Linked DNA regions of Homo sapiens: region 1 is linked to region 2. Evidence: promoter capture Hi-C in human tissues and cell types (Jung and others, 2019). All regions are on one chromosome and are shown on one strand. The core of a region is centred on a gene start or on the middle of the fragment in contact, and the rest is flanking DNA. Distances in the headings are between cores, read along the strand shown. Region 1 has its middle 11 kb from the start of AKR7A3. Region 2 holds the start of IFFO2 (intermediate filament family orphan 2).

What was found. The method cuts DNA at HindIII sites, captures the fragments that hold promoters and counts their contacts. A contact is called where the count stands out against the background at its distance.
Region 1: a contact is called between a fragment that was not itself captured here and the fragment with the promoter of IFFO2 in region 2, in 1 of the 25 tissues and cell types used here (bladder).

What each region holds. Positions count from the first base shown.
Region 1 is chr1:19,274,526-19,281,867 of GRCh38, forward strand. It overlaps a transcript of AKR7A3 not described here. Among named protein-coding and RNA genes, the nearest start is that of AKR7A3, 11 kb to the right of the region's middle. The HindIII fragment of the contact is 8,144 bases long and covers 1,175-7,342 here.
Region 2 is chr1:18,954,457-18,961,378 of GRCh38, forward strand. It overlaps IFFO2 (intermediate filament family orphan 2), which reads right to left and starts at 2,220. Exons shown (of 9, transcript NM_001136265.2): 1 at 1,212-2,220. The coding sequence starts at 1,876. RefSeq lists silencers at 973-1,162, 1,403-1,662, 2,233-2,402. The HindIII fragment of the contact is 10,098 bases long and covers 1-5,771 here.

The DNA of each region.
Region 1 (7,342 bases), core at 3,997-6,496, 320 kb after region 2:
GCCTGCCGTGTGGTCCTGGAGGATGAGGCTTACCAAAGGCTCAAAACAGCGTCCCCGTGGAGTGACATGGTTAAAGTCTTGAAAGAAAAGAACTGTTGGCATTGAATTCTGTACCTAAGTGAAACAAACAAACAAACTGACTGACTGTGGTGGTTTACGCCTGTAATCCCAACACTTTGGGAGATCAAGGCAGGACGATCGCCTGAGCCCAGGAGTTTGAATCCAGCCTGGGCAACATAGGGAGGCCCTGTCTCAAAAGAAAAAAAAAAAGAAGAAGAAGATAGAAAAATGGACCAACGCCCAGCTGCAGTGTGCTGTGATAGCTCCACTGCACTCCGCCCTGGGTGACAGAGGGCAAATCTGTCTCTAAATACAAAAAAAAAAAAAAAAGACCAATAGACAGATGGAACAAATGAAAAACCAATAGCAAGATTAATTTAAACCCAACCATATCAATAATTACATTAAATATAAATGAAAAAATGCTTACAAGTAAAAGGCAGAGATTGTTAGAATGGATAAAAAAGCAAAACACAAGTATATAGTAAATATTAGAAAGCTATTGAAATATATAAACAGAGATAAGTTAAAAGTAAAAAGATGCGCCAGGCGGAGTGGTTCATGCCTGTAATCCCAGCACTTTGGGAGGCCGAGGGGGGTGGATCACCTGAGGTCAAGAGTTGGAGACCAAGCCTGACTAACATGGAGAAACCCCATCTCTACTAAAAATACAAAATTAGCCAGGTGGGGTGGCACATGCCCGTAATCCCAGCTACTTGGGAGGCTGAGGCAGGAGAATCGCTGGAACCTTGGAGGCGGAGGTTGCAGTGAGCCAAGATCGCACCATTGCACTCCAGCCGAGGCAACAAGAGCGAAATTCCATCTCAAAAAAAAAAAGTAAAAAGGTGGGAAAAGACATACCTTGACAAAACTAAATTTTAAAAAGTTGGAATGGCTACATCAATATCAGACAAAGTAGGTTTCAAAACAAAAAATACTGGCCCGTATAGTGGTTGACACCTGTAATCTCAGCACTTTGGGAGGCTGAAAAGGGAGGATTGAGCCCAGGAGTTTGAGACCAGCCTGGGCAACACAGAGAGATGTTATCTCTACAAAAAGTTTTAAAAAGATTATCAAAATGTGGTAGCATGTGCCTGTGGTCCCAGTTACTCAGGAGGTTGAGGTGGGAGGATCACCTGAGCCTAGGAGGTCAAGGCTGCAGTGAGCTGTGATCATACCACTACACTCCAACCTGGGCAGCAGATTGAGACCCTGTCTCAAATCAACAACAAAAACAACAACAAGAAAAACTACCAAAGACAAAGAGGGACCTATCATAATGACAGAGGTCAATTAACAAAGAAAATATAATCGTCAATGTATATGCAAATAAAAATAGAGCATCAAATACATGAAAAACAATAATAGAACTTAAGAAGAAATAGACAAATACAAAATTATAGTTGGAGGTTTCAACACACCACTCTCAACAGTTGTAGAACAGTTGTCAGTCATAATTTACAGAAACTCGGTAAAGGTATAGAAGACTTGAACAGCCCAGGCGCCGTGGCTCACGCCTGTAATCCCAGCACTTTGGGAGGCTGAGGCGGGTGGATCACGAGGTCAGGAGTTCAAGATCAGCCTGGCCAAGATGGTGAAACCCCGTCTCTACTAAAAATGCAAAAAATTAGCCAGGCGTGGTGGCGGGCACCTGTAATCCCAGCTACTCGGGAGGCTGAAGCAAAGAATTGCTTGAACCCAGGAGGCAGAGGTTGCAGTGAGCCGAGATTGCGCCACTGCAGTCCAGACTAGGTGACAGAGCAAGACTCCATCTCAAAAAAAAAAAAAAAAAGACTTGAACAATGCTATTAACCAAGTCCATATAAACAACATGAATGGAATATCCAACAACAGCAGAATATGCATCCAAGTGCACATCCACCAAGATATACTATATTTTGAGGCATAAAACAAGTCTTAATAAATGCAAAAGAGGCCGGGCATGGTGGCTCATGTCTGTAATCCCAGCACTTTGAGATGCTGAGGCAGGCAGATCACTTGAGGTCAGGCGTTCCAGATCAGCCTGGTCAACATGGTAAGAACCCGTCTCTACTAAAAATATAAAAATTAGACAGGCATGTTGGCATGCACCTGTAATCTCAGCTACTCGAGAGGCTGAGGCAGGATAATCACTTCAACCTGGGAGACAGAGGTTGCAGTGAGCTGAGATCATGCCACTGCATTCCAGCCTGGACAACAGAGTGAGATTCCGTCTTAAAAAAAAATAACAAAAATAAATTAACAGGCCAGGTGTGGTGGCTCACTCCTGTAATCCAAACACTTTTGGAGGTTGAGGCAGGCAGATCACCTGAGGTTAGGGGTTCTCTAGATCAGCCTGGCCAACATGGTGAAACCCCATCTCTACTAAAAGTACAAAAATTAGCCGGGCGTGGTGGCTCATGCCTATAATCCCAGTTACTCAGGAGGCTGAGGCAGGAGAATCCCTTGACCCCAGCAGGTGGAGGCTGCAGTGAGCCGAGGTTGCACCACTGCACTACAGCCTGGGCAACAGAGTGAGACTCCGTCTCAAAAAAAAGAAAAGAAAAAAATAAACAAATAAATTTGAAAGGATTTAAATAATACAAAGTACATCTCTGAACACAATGGAATTAAACTAGAAAATAATAACAGAACTTAGAGCCTGAGAGGGAACTGAAAATAAGTAAATAGGTAAATAAATAAATAGAAGAAAAAGGAAAAATAGAAAATAATAACGGAGTGATGTCTGGAAAATCCCCACGTATTTGGAAATTAAATAACCCATGGATCAAAGATGTAATCTCAAGGAAAATTAGATCATAATTTGAACTGAATTAAAGTAAAAACATGACATGTCAAATTTTCTGAGATGCAGCCACAGTAGTGCTAAGAGGGAAATTTATAGCACCACTTTGACATACTATAAAAGAAGAAATATCTCAAATCAATAATGTAAGCATTTACTTTTTTTTTTTGAGACAAAGTCTCGCTCTGTTGTACAGGCTGGAGTGCAGTGGTGCGATCTCGGCTCACTGCAATCTCGGTGTCCCAGGTTCAAGCAATTCTCGTGCCTCAGCTCTCGAATAGCTGGAATTACAGGCATGTGCCACCACACCTGGCTAATATTTGTATTTTTAGTAGAGACAGCGTCTCGCCATGTTGGCCAGGCTGGTCTCGAACTCCTGGCCTCAAGGGATCCTCCCACCTCAGCCTCCCAAAGTGCTGGGATTACAGGCATGAGCCACTGCACCTAGGTGGGTCTTTTCTTTAATTAAGTTGTAAGAGTCCTGTATCTATTGCAGCTACAAGTTTCTTTACAGATATGTGATTTGCAAAATACTATCCCATTCTGTGGCTTGTCTTTTCACTTTCTTGATAGTTCTCTGAAGCACGAACATTCTAAACTTTGATGGTGTTGATTTTACTTTTTCTTTTGCCACGTGTGCTTTTGGTGTCAATATCTAAGAAACCACTGCCTAATCCAAAGTCATACTTACTCCAGTATTTTCTTCTAAGAGTTTTACAGTTTTACCTTATACATTTAGGTGGGTGATTCATTTGAGTTAGTTTTTTTGTGTGTGGTATGGGGAAGGGGTCTCAAACTCCTGGGTTCAAGAGATTCCCCTTGCCTGGGCCTCCCAAAGTTCTGGCATTTCAGGCATGAATGAACCACCATGACCGGCCTGTTTTGTTTTTTAAAAACAACTGTATTGGCCAGGCGCAGTGGCTCACACCTGTAATCCCAGCACTTTGGGAGGCCAAGGGCAGACAGATCATGAGGTCAGGGGATTGAGACCATCTGGCTAACATGATGAAACCGCATCTCTACTAAAAAATACATAAAAAATTAGCCAGATGTGGTGGCACACGCCTGTAGTCCCACCTACTTGGGAGGCTGAGGCAAGATAATTGGTTGAACCCAGGAGGCGGAGGTTGCAATGAGCCAAGATCGCGCCACTGCACTCCAGCCTGGGCCACAGAGTGAGACTCCATCTCAAAAAAGAAAAAAACAACAAAAACAAAAACAAAAACAAAAAAACTACTGTATTGAGACATAATTCAGACACTATACAGTTGACTTAAAGTGATGATTTAATGCTGTTTCATGTATTCAGAGGTGTACAACCATCACAATCAATTTCAGAGCATCCTCATAAGTGCACCCAAAAGAAACCCTGTACTTATTAGCAGTGAATCTCTATTTCCTCGCAAACCTCCTCCCGGTCCTAGGCAAGCACTCATCTACTTTCTCTCTCTCAAACAGATTTGCCTATTCTGGACATTTCATACAGATCAAATCATGCAATATGAAACCTTTTGCAATTGGCGTCTTTAATTTTACAAGTCTTCAAGGTGCATTTACCTTGTAGGTGTTTCATTACTTCATTTTATTTACTTATTTATGTATTTAGAAACATGGTTTGCTCTGTCACCCAGGCTGCAGTGCAGTGATGCATAATCATAGCTCACTCCAGCCTTGAATACCTGGGCTCAAGCAATCCTCCCACCTCGGCTTCCTGAGTAGCTGGGACTACAGGTGTGTGCCACAGAACCCAGCTAATTTTCTTTTTATGTTTACTAGAGACAAGGTCTCACTTCTATGTCCAGACTGGTCTGGAACTCCTGTCTTCAATTAATCCTCCTGCCTTGGCCTCCCAAAGTACTGAGATTACAGGCGTGAGCTACTTTTTTATTATTTTTTTTAACAGCCGAATAATAGTCTGTTGTATGAATATACCACATTTTGTTTATCCTTTCATTCATTGATGGACATTTGGGTTGTTTTTACTTATTGGCTATTATGAGTAATGATATTGTGAAAACTCATGCCCAAGTTTTTTGTGGGGAGATATGTTTTCACTTCTCTTGGCTATATACCCACAAGTGGAACTGCTGAATCCTATGGTAATTTTATGTTTAATCCTCTGAGGAACTGCCAAACTATTTTCCAAAGTGGTTGTACCATTTTACATTCCCACCATCAGCATATGAAGATTCCAGTTTCTCTACGGCACTTCTATCGTCTGTCTGTCTTACTACTCCCATCCTAGTGGGTGTGAAGTAGTGGAAACACATTGTGGTTTTTATTTTTATTTCCCTCATGGGTAATGATGTTGAGCGCTTTCTCATCTGTCTACTGACCATCTGTATATCTTTGCTAGAGAAAGTTCTATTTGGATCCTTTGTTCATTTTTCAATTGCATTATTGATATTGTTATTGTTGAATGATAAGAGTTCTTTATATAATTCAAGCTTGTCCAACCCACGACCCGCAGGCCGCATGCAGCCCAAAGATGGCTTTGAATGTGTGGCCCGACACAAATTCATAAACTTTCCCAAAACATTATGAGATTTTCTTGTGATTTTTTTTTTTAAGTTCATCAGCCATCGTTAGTGTGAGTGTATTTTATGTGCGGCCCAAGACAATTCTTCTTCTTCCAGTGTGGCCCAGGGAAACCAAAAGATTGGACACCCCTGGTCTAGACAGAACATCATCGGGTAAATGATTTGCAAGTATTTTCTCCCATTCTGTGGGTTGTCATTTCACTTTCTTTATGGAGTCTTTAAAGTAAAAGAGTTCTAAACTTTGATGATGTCCAATTTAATTTTTCTTTTGTTGTTTGTGCTTCTGAGGAACAATTCCCCAATCCAAGGCCACAAGACTTATCTCTATATTTTCTTTTTCTTTCTTTGAGACAGACAGAGTCTTGCTCTGTCACCCGGGCTGGAGTGGAGTGGCACAATTTTGGCTCGCTGCAACCTCTGCCTCCTGGGTTCAAGTGATTCCGGTGCCTCAGCCACCACAGTAGGTGGGATTACAGGAGTGTGCCACCATCCTGGCCCTGTATTTTCTTCTAAAAGTTTTTATACTTTTAGCCTATACATTTAGGTCTATGACTCACTTTGTGTTTATTTTCTTATGTATGGTATGAGGAAGGGGTCCAACTTCATTCTCTTACTTGCAAATATCCAGATGTTGTTGAAGATGGTTCTTTTCGTTTCTTTTCTTTTCTTTTCTTTTTTGAGACAGAGTCTTGCTCTGTCGCCCAGGCTGGAGTGCAGTGGCGTGATCTTGGCTCACTGCAAGCTCCACCTCCTGGGTTCACACCATTCTCCCGCCTCAGCCTCCCGAGTAGCTGGGACTACAGGCACCCGCCACCACGCCCAGCTAATTTTTTGTATTTTCAGTAGAGACGGGGTTTCACTGTGTTAGCCAGGATGGTCGCGATCTCCTGACCTCATGATCCGCCTGCCTCGGCCTCCCAAAGTGCTGGGATTACAGGTATGAGCCACCGCGCCCGGCCTAAAGATGGTTATTTTCCTTGTTGAATTGTCTTGACGCTCTTTAAAATTAATTGACAATACCATGAAAGGGTTTACTGCTGGACTCTAAATTCTAGTCCATTGATTTATGTCTAGCCTTATGCTAGGACCACACTGTCTTTAGCATTGTAGTTGTTTTTTCTGTTTGTTTTTTGTTTTGTTTTGTTCGGAGAATGGAATCTCACTCTGTCACCCAGGCTGGAGTGCAGTGGCCTGATCTCGGCTCACTGCAACCTTCATCTCCCAGATTCAAGCAATTCTCCCTGCCTCAGCCTCCCGAGTAGCTGGGATTACAGGCGCCTACCACCACGCCCGGCTATGTAGTTTTGTAGTAAGTTCTGAAATCAGAAAGTGGGAGTCCTCCAACTGTGTTCTTTTTCAAGCATGTTTTGGGTATCCTGGGTGCCCTGAATTTGCTATGAATTTTAGAACCAGTTTTCCAACTTCTGTGTTCTCAAAAAAAAGCTGGCTGGGTGTGGTGGCTCATGCCTGTAATCCCAGCATTCGAGGCACCAAGTGGGGCACATCAACTGAGGTCAGGAGTTCAAGACCAGCCTGGACAACATGGCAAAACCCAGTCTCTACAAAAATACAAAAATTAACCAGGTGGGTGGCTCACACCTGTAATCCCAGCTACTCAGGAAGCTGTGGCAGGAGAATCACTTGAACCCAGGAGGTGGAGGTTGCAGTGAGCCGAGATTGCACCACTGCACTCTAGCCTGGGAGGCAGAGCGAGACTCTATATCAAAAAATTAAAAAAATAAAAATAAATAAAAAAGCCAGTTGGGATTTGGACAAAGATTATGTTGAATTTTCTTATCATCTTGGGGATTTTGTCATTTTAAGCAATTGAATTTTGCCCAAGGCCCTGGAAGCCCACCCCTTGCACCAGTGTGCCCAGGATGTGGGATATGGAGTCAAAGATTATTTTGGAGCTTTACATTTTCACGCCTGCCCTACTGGGTTTCAGACTTGCGTG
Region 2 (6,922 bases), core at 970-3,469:
ACCTATGCCCAGCTCCCTGGACAGACCTTTAGAGATGGAAGGAAGGGTCCTTCTCAGTACATCCTCCAAGCCCTGGAGTTCAGAGCCAATAGCTCCGAATGGAAGGCTGCCTGTGCCTGGAACAGCGATTGCCAGGGCCAGAGGGCCCCTTCCCCAGCCAGGCCTGAGATGCCAAAGACAGACCCTTCTTCTCTTATGGGAAGAGGAGGAGGATAGGAGACCCCTCTCCTCTTATCGGAAAGCCAAGCAGACAGTATTGTCGGCCAGACTGCAGACAGGAAGCAATGACAGTTTCCCAGCTGGGGAATCTGGGCTAGGCAGGAATGCACTGGCCAGTCTTGCAGAGTCTGGACCCCAGTTCTAGCCAGAGATTGTGGTCTCAGTCCATTCAATGTCCAGTCTCCAGCCCAACATTATCTTCTCCTGGGGGCTTTTAAGGCTGAGTTTGTTAGGGCTCAATAAACCATGAGACTCAGGGAGTGGGGAGAAGAGGGATGAAAGGAGGCATTTTATAAAAGCTTGTGAGCAGTCTGTTGTAGTTGTGGTTATCCAACCCAGCAAGCTGGACCTTACAGAGCTGGAGCAAGACGGCAGACACTGGCCCCAGGGGGTAGGGGCAGATCCATCCATTTTCAAAAACGTGATCTCATTTAATTCAAGAAATAAAAAGGCAGTGGGTTGGTTAGAGTTTTTCTTTTCATATGTTGAGGGAGGGGAGCATATTTCCTACTTCCTTGGTAAAAATACTTATGCTAGGAGACAGACTAGCCAGGAGTGGTTAAAATCTCTGGTTGAAATCCCGGTTTCACCACTTACTCGCCAAGCCACCTTAGGCAAATCACTTAGCATTTCTGCACCTCGGTTTCCTCATCTGCGAGATGAGGATAAGACTGCCTTACACAATACGCTGTATTGTGCTGAGAATTAAATGAGATCGCATAAAACACAGACAGTTATTATGTCACCTAGAAAACAATGTGCCTCACCAGTGACAGCATCGAGGTGGCCCCCACGGTAGCCAGCGCCCGCCCCCATCCTGGGATCTAGATAACTGGGCCTTCCTGGCGTACGTAAGACGCTCTGCAAACACAGCTTCCAGCCCACCTGCCAGTACCAGCTGCCCGCCCGGCCCCCGTCCCGCATACGCATTCCGCGGCAGCCTGGACCTGGGCGCCCCGTCCCAGGGCGGCGGGGGAGGGGCGGCCACTCACCTCCGCTTATACTCGTCGCGCTCGCGCTTCACCTTGGCCAGCACGTTGTAGAGCGCGCGGATCTCCGGCGTGATGGTGTCGATCTGCACGCCCACGCCGTCGGGGTGCACCCACGACACGCCGGGGCCCTGCACGGTCTCCACGCCGCCGCCGCCCGTGCGCCGCACCTGCGTGTAGCTCCAGATGGTCCCGGGCAGGCGGCCGTAGTGCTGCGGGTGCGAGCCGCCGCCGGGGGGCAGGCCGCCCAGGGCCACGGCATTGGCGTTGGCGCCGGCCGCCGCGCCACTGCTGAGGCCGTGCCCGCCGCCGGGCGCCGGGGGCCGCAGCAACTCGGGCCCGGTCTGCACGGCCTGCTCGCGGGAGAAGGTCTTGTAGCGCAGCCGCCGCTCGCGCTCGCTCTGCTGCTGCTCCAGCTGCTTCTCCAGCAGCCGGTTGCGCCGCTCCAGCTCGTGCACCTTAGCCAGGAAGCAGCGGAAGCGCACGTTGAGCCCCTTCAAGAGGTGGATGTTGGAGCCCAGGTCGTCCCGCAGCGCCGCCGTCACCGGCGACGGACCCGGCCCTGCCCCGCCGCCGCCGCCGCCCCCGCCAGGGCAGCCCCCGCCGCCGCCGCCCGGCGGGCAGCCGAAGGCCAAGGCCATCTCCCCGAACAGCAGCGAGTTCACCATGCGCCGGCTGCGCGGCTCAGGGCCCCGGGCCCGCGGCTCCAGGTGCGGCTCCAGCTCCGGGCAGGGCTCCCGGCGCGGCCGGGCCAGGGTGGGCGCGGGCTCCAGCGCGGCCGGCCGGGCGGTTCCAGATGCGCGCCAGATGCGGCCTCCGCAGAGACGGCAGGACGGATGGCCCCGGATGCGGGCGCCGAGGCGAGAGAGGGCACTCGGCCGCTCCTCGGGACGCGGTGGAGGCCGCGGTATCTGCGCGGGGCCAGAAGGGTCGCGGGTCTCACCGCCCGGGCTGTCAGAGACGCTGTGGAGGGGCCGCGGCAGCCGCACGCAGAGGACTCTCGGCCGGCACTGCCCCTTCTGCGGCGGGCCCCGCCCACTGCAGACACTGGCCCCGCCCCCGCCGCGGCCCCGCCCACCCCTCCTCCCTCTGCGGCGTTCCCCGAGCCCGAGGCTCCGCCCCACGAGGCCCGCAGCGCCGGGCCCCACCCACAGACCCTCGGCTCCGCCCACCTCCGGGTTCTCCCGCTTTCTCCGCAGCATAGACTCCGCCCAGCTCCCCGGCGGGGCCACGCCCTCTCCTGCGTCTGGTCCTGCCTCCCCGCCGGGTGCCGATTCTCTGCTGGGGGACCCGGACCGCAGAGCTGCACCAGGGACCGGGTTAGCTGGAACCGCCGCAGAGCCAGCCGGGCCTCTTAAAGGGGCCAGCAGCCTCGGCAACGCTCGCTTTCCACTTTTTAGGGCGCTCCTCTCCCACGTCGCCTGCCGAGAGGGCTCCGTTTCTCTGTCCTCTCTGCCCGCAATGCCCCTGGCCCCAAATTCCTTCGGATGTGCGCGACCGCGGCTGGAAGGGCTGGGGGACCACAGTATCCGAAGGTGCATCGGCACCCCACCCCCACTCTAGCCTGGGGAGGCCCAGATCGACCTTTCGGGGATAAGAGGGCGCCCGTGCCCCACGCTGCGGACCCGGGGGTGGGCTCCTCGAATGCTAGCTGCGGGCCTTGTCCTCTCGAGATCGGCCCGGGCACAGCTAAGCCCGCTGGTTCCCCCGCCCACTGAGGAGCCGAGCAGCATGGGGGTTGGGGAGGCCGAGCAAGACCCTCCCGGGATGACACCCACAAACTCGGCCTGGGCCTCGCCTCTGCTGAGCTGCTCAGCACCTCCCCACCACCCACACCCACACGCTGAGATGAAGCTGACCCCGAGAGCTGGGGATTCATTTCACAGACATGGGGCTTAGCGGGCCGCCTGGGGCAGACCGAGGCAACCCGAGGACCCATTCATTCATTCATTCATTCATTCAAATGTTTTCACACCTACCACGTTAAAGGCCAAGTTCTCCAGTCTCTGGTGTCTCCTGAACCGTGTTGCAAACATTAGTATATGTCAGGCGCCATACTTATTTATTATCCCCATTTTACAGAGAAGGTCACTGAGACGTTAAGTAGCCACAATGGTCCAAAGTGCATGCTCTAACCGGCCTTCCACAATGCTGGCCTCGGGCCTCGTGTCCATTTCCGCATTTGGTCCTCACCGCAAACCTCAGAGGGGAGGTGACCCCCACCTTGAACCCCCACCTTTGAACGCCTGTGGCTTGCATTGTATGCACTTAACCAGATATGTGGCATGTTTCAGATACTTCCGACTGCATTTTTTACTAGCAGTTTAATTTTTGTCTTGTTATTAACTTTTGTGTTTGTTTTGTCTCTTTGTATGTAAGCTTGAGGACAGGCACACTGTCTTACATGGACAATGCCTTGGTGTTCTTGGTGACAAAGGAGACACGGGCTTGCCCTGGAGTGATGTGGCTGTGATGTTAGTCTGCTGTGTTTTTGATTTAGCCACAAAAGCAAACCTTCCCCATAGTTCCTTCCCTCAACCACAGTTCCTTGCTTCCTGCCAACACGGACTCACCTTAAACACCCAGCTCTGAAACTCACTCATCTAGAAACCTTTCTCTGCTTAACCCAACCCAGTCTGGACACTGCCCTTTACTCTTCGTTCTCTCGTCTCTTGATGATGTTCTTGTTTATCTAACCTAAGGAATCAAAACCCCTTTGCCTTGAAGCAGAGGTTCATGGACCCCCAAGAGGACTGAGGATAGAATTCTGGGGGGTCCATGACACAGGGGTGGACAAAAGTTATACCTTTAGCCTCACTAATCTCTAAAGGCTTTGTTGTCTGTTTGTTTATTTGTTTGTTTGAAACAGAGTTTCACTCTTGTTGCCCAGGCTAGAGTGCAATGGTGCGATCTTGGCTCATCACAACCTCCACCTCCGGGGTTCAAGAGATTATCCTGCCTCAGCCTCCCAAGTAGCTGGGATTACAGGCATGCGCCACCACACCCGGCTAATTTTTTTGTATTCTTAGTAGAGATGGGGGTTTCTCTATGTTGGTCAGGCTGGTCTTGAACCCCCAACCTCAGGTGATCCGCCCACCTTGACCTCCCGAAGTTCTGGGATTACAGACGTAAGCCACCGTGCCCAGCCAATGGTTTTTAACATATCCTTTGATTATGAATGTAGGCAGCAAGTAGATGTCCCTGTGATTTTGTCACTAGTAGAAATCACAGGTATTTATGTAACACACTACAGTTATTGTAAACATCTCAAGATATCATCTAAGCTACGAGAACTGTGAAATTAAAGTCATATTAGACCGACCACTAAATCTTATTTAATGTATTAGTAAAAGAGAACGTATGTTACTATATGAGAAATTGTTAATAGTTTGATATCTATTTTTAGTAAAATGACTTTTCATAGTAATCCTAATGCCTTTTTAAAAAAATTATTCTCAGAAGGGGTCCACAGGCTCCACCCAATGCCTGAGTGGTCCCATGGAAGAGAAAGGGTTAAGAAGTCACACCTGGGGAGTGGCTCCCTGCAACCTCTTCCAGGAAGGATCTGTCCTTCCAACAAAGTTGCCCTGGAATTGGGGTGTGCAGCCCTCCTTGAGGGTGGGGGCAGCCCTGCCCTGGGCCCTGGAGATATTCAGACTTTCCGTGATGACTTGTGGAGCACCTGCTTCGGCACAAATCCTGCATTAAATGCAGAGGAAGGAGCTAAAGGGGCTCCAGGGGAGCTGATGGAGACAACCAAAAAAGACCATCCTGAGGCATGGGAGTGGGTGCAGAGGGGGGAAAAGGAGATGGCCAAGCAGAGCCCAGAAGATCTGAAGGAATTGAGGGAAGTGGTAGCTGGACCTGAGAGGGTTTTCAGCTGAACCCTAGAAACATGATATGTGCAAACAAAATGGCTTGAAAATAGCTTCGTGGCCACATAGGAATAAAGGCGGGTGCTGCGTGTCTTGCTCTTTGTGGGTAAAATGTGAGGTTAGGTTAACCTAACAGTCCTCCAGCTAGGGTGACCAACCATCCCAATTTATCAGGAACTGAGAAGGTTTCTCTTGATGCTAAAACCTGGAAAGTAAATCAGAACGAGCAAATCAGAACAAATGTGTCACCCTACTTCCAGCCCATATCAATCTGGAGGCATCTGAGGCCAGAAGTCCTATAGTTCAGGATACAGCCAGCCCAGATTTCTTGTTTCAGGGACCAGAAAACTGAGGACCACAGAGAGGTAAGGACTGACCCAGGTCTCCTGAATAATTGGTATCAAAGCCTGGTCTGGAATTCTGGTCCCATTCCCTTTCCAATGGTAGGTCCTCCCTGGCCCAGACAATGAATTCAGTGGTCTCCTCCCCTTAACCCCAGACACTGGCAGGCTGGCTCCCCCATTCAAGATCCAAAGGGGGCTAAAGGTGGGTCCTCAAGGCAGCGGAAGAGTTCCAACAGACAAAGGAACATCCCTGTGGGGGACGCCAGCCTCCTCTCACTAAACAAGGATAATTAGGTTTTTGTTTTTTGGCAGGGTACCTCCCCTTGACCCTCAAAGTCACAGCGGTGTGTCTAACCTGTCCAGACTGTTTTTGGAGGCAAGAGTGGGGAGTGGAAAAAGGTGGGCTTTTAAGACAAGAGATTGGCTAAGGTTTGTATCTAAGTCACTTTACCTCTCTGAGGCTCTATTTCCTCATCAGGGAAATGGGCATAACTGCTCTCAATGAACAGTTGCTGAATGAATGAATAAAAGAATTAAGAAATGAATGAGAAAATGACTTTTATTCTTCCTGCCCCACTCCCCAGCCATTTCACCTGCTAACAACTCCTCATCCTTCAGGTCCCAGCCTCAAGCACGGAACCTTCTCTTCTCGGAAACTTCTCTTCTCGGAACCTTCTCAAGTACCTGCCAGGTCTGGGTGGAGGGTGCTTCCTCCAGGCTCTGCCAGCACTGCCCACCCTGTGGCAGCCCCAAGTATACGCTCTTGTCATTGCTGGATTTCTCATCTGCATCTCCACCCCTTCTAGCCCAGCCTTCTAACACTTGCTAACCCATATTCTCTATTAGAGCAGAAGCACTTGATCAGATTCACCCTGGAACCCATATCCTGGCATGGTACCTGGCACATAATAGGTGCTCAACAAAGATGAGTTCAGGTGAACAAATGAATGAGCTGTTAGTTACTGGAGAAATTCCTGTAAAGTGGATCATGGCTGCTTAGGAAATGTTATATTTGCAGAACGTAATTGCATTTCTTTTTTTTACTTTATTGAGGAATATTTTACATATTATGTAATTCACCCATGTCAATGGTTTTTAATAAATTTACCAAGTTGTGCAAACAACGCTATAAACCAGTTTTAGAATATTTCATCATCCCCACTCCTACCCCCTGCCCCAGACAACCGCTAATCTGGGATCTGTCTCTATGGAGTTGCCTTTTCTACATATATCAGATAAATGACATTTTACAATATGTGATCTCTTGTGTCTGGCCACTTTCATTGAGCACAATGTCTTTGAGGCTCATCCATGTGGTAGCATGTATCAGTAGTTTGTTCCTCTTTATAAATGATCTCTTTTTAAATTTCAATAGTTTTAATTTTTCCTTTTCTGTACTCAGTTCTTCATCTGGAAATAAGACTATAGGACTATCTGACCTGGGGCCAGGTGCAGTGGCTCACACCTGTAATCCCAACACTTTGGGAGACCGAAG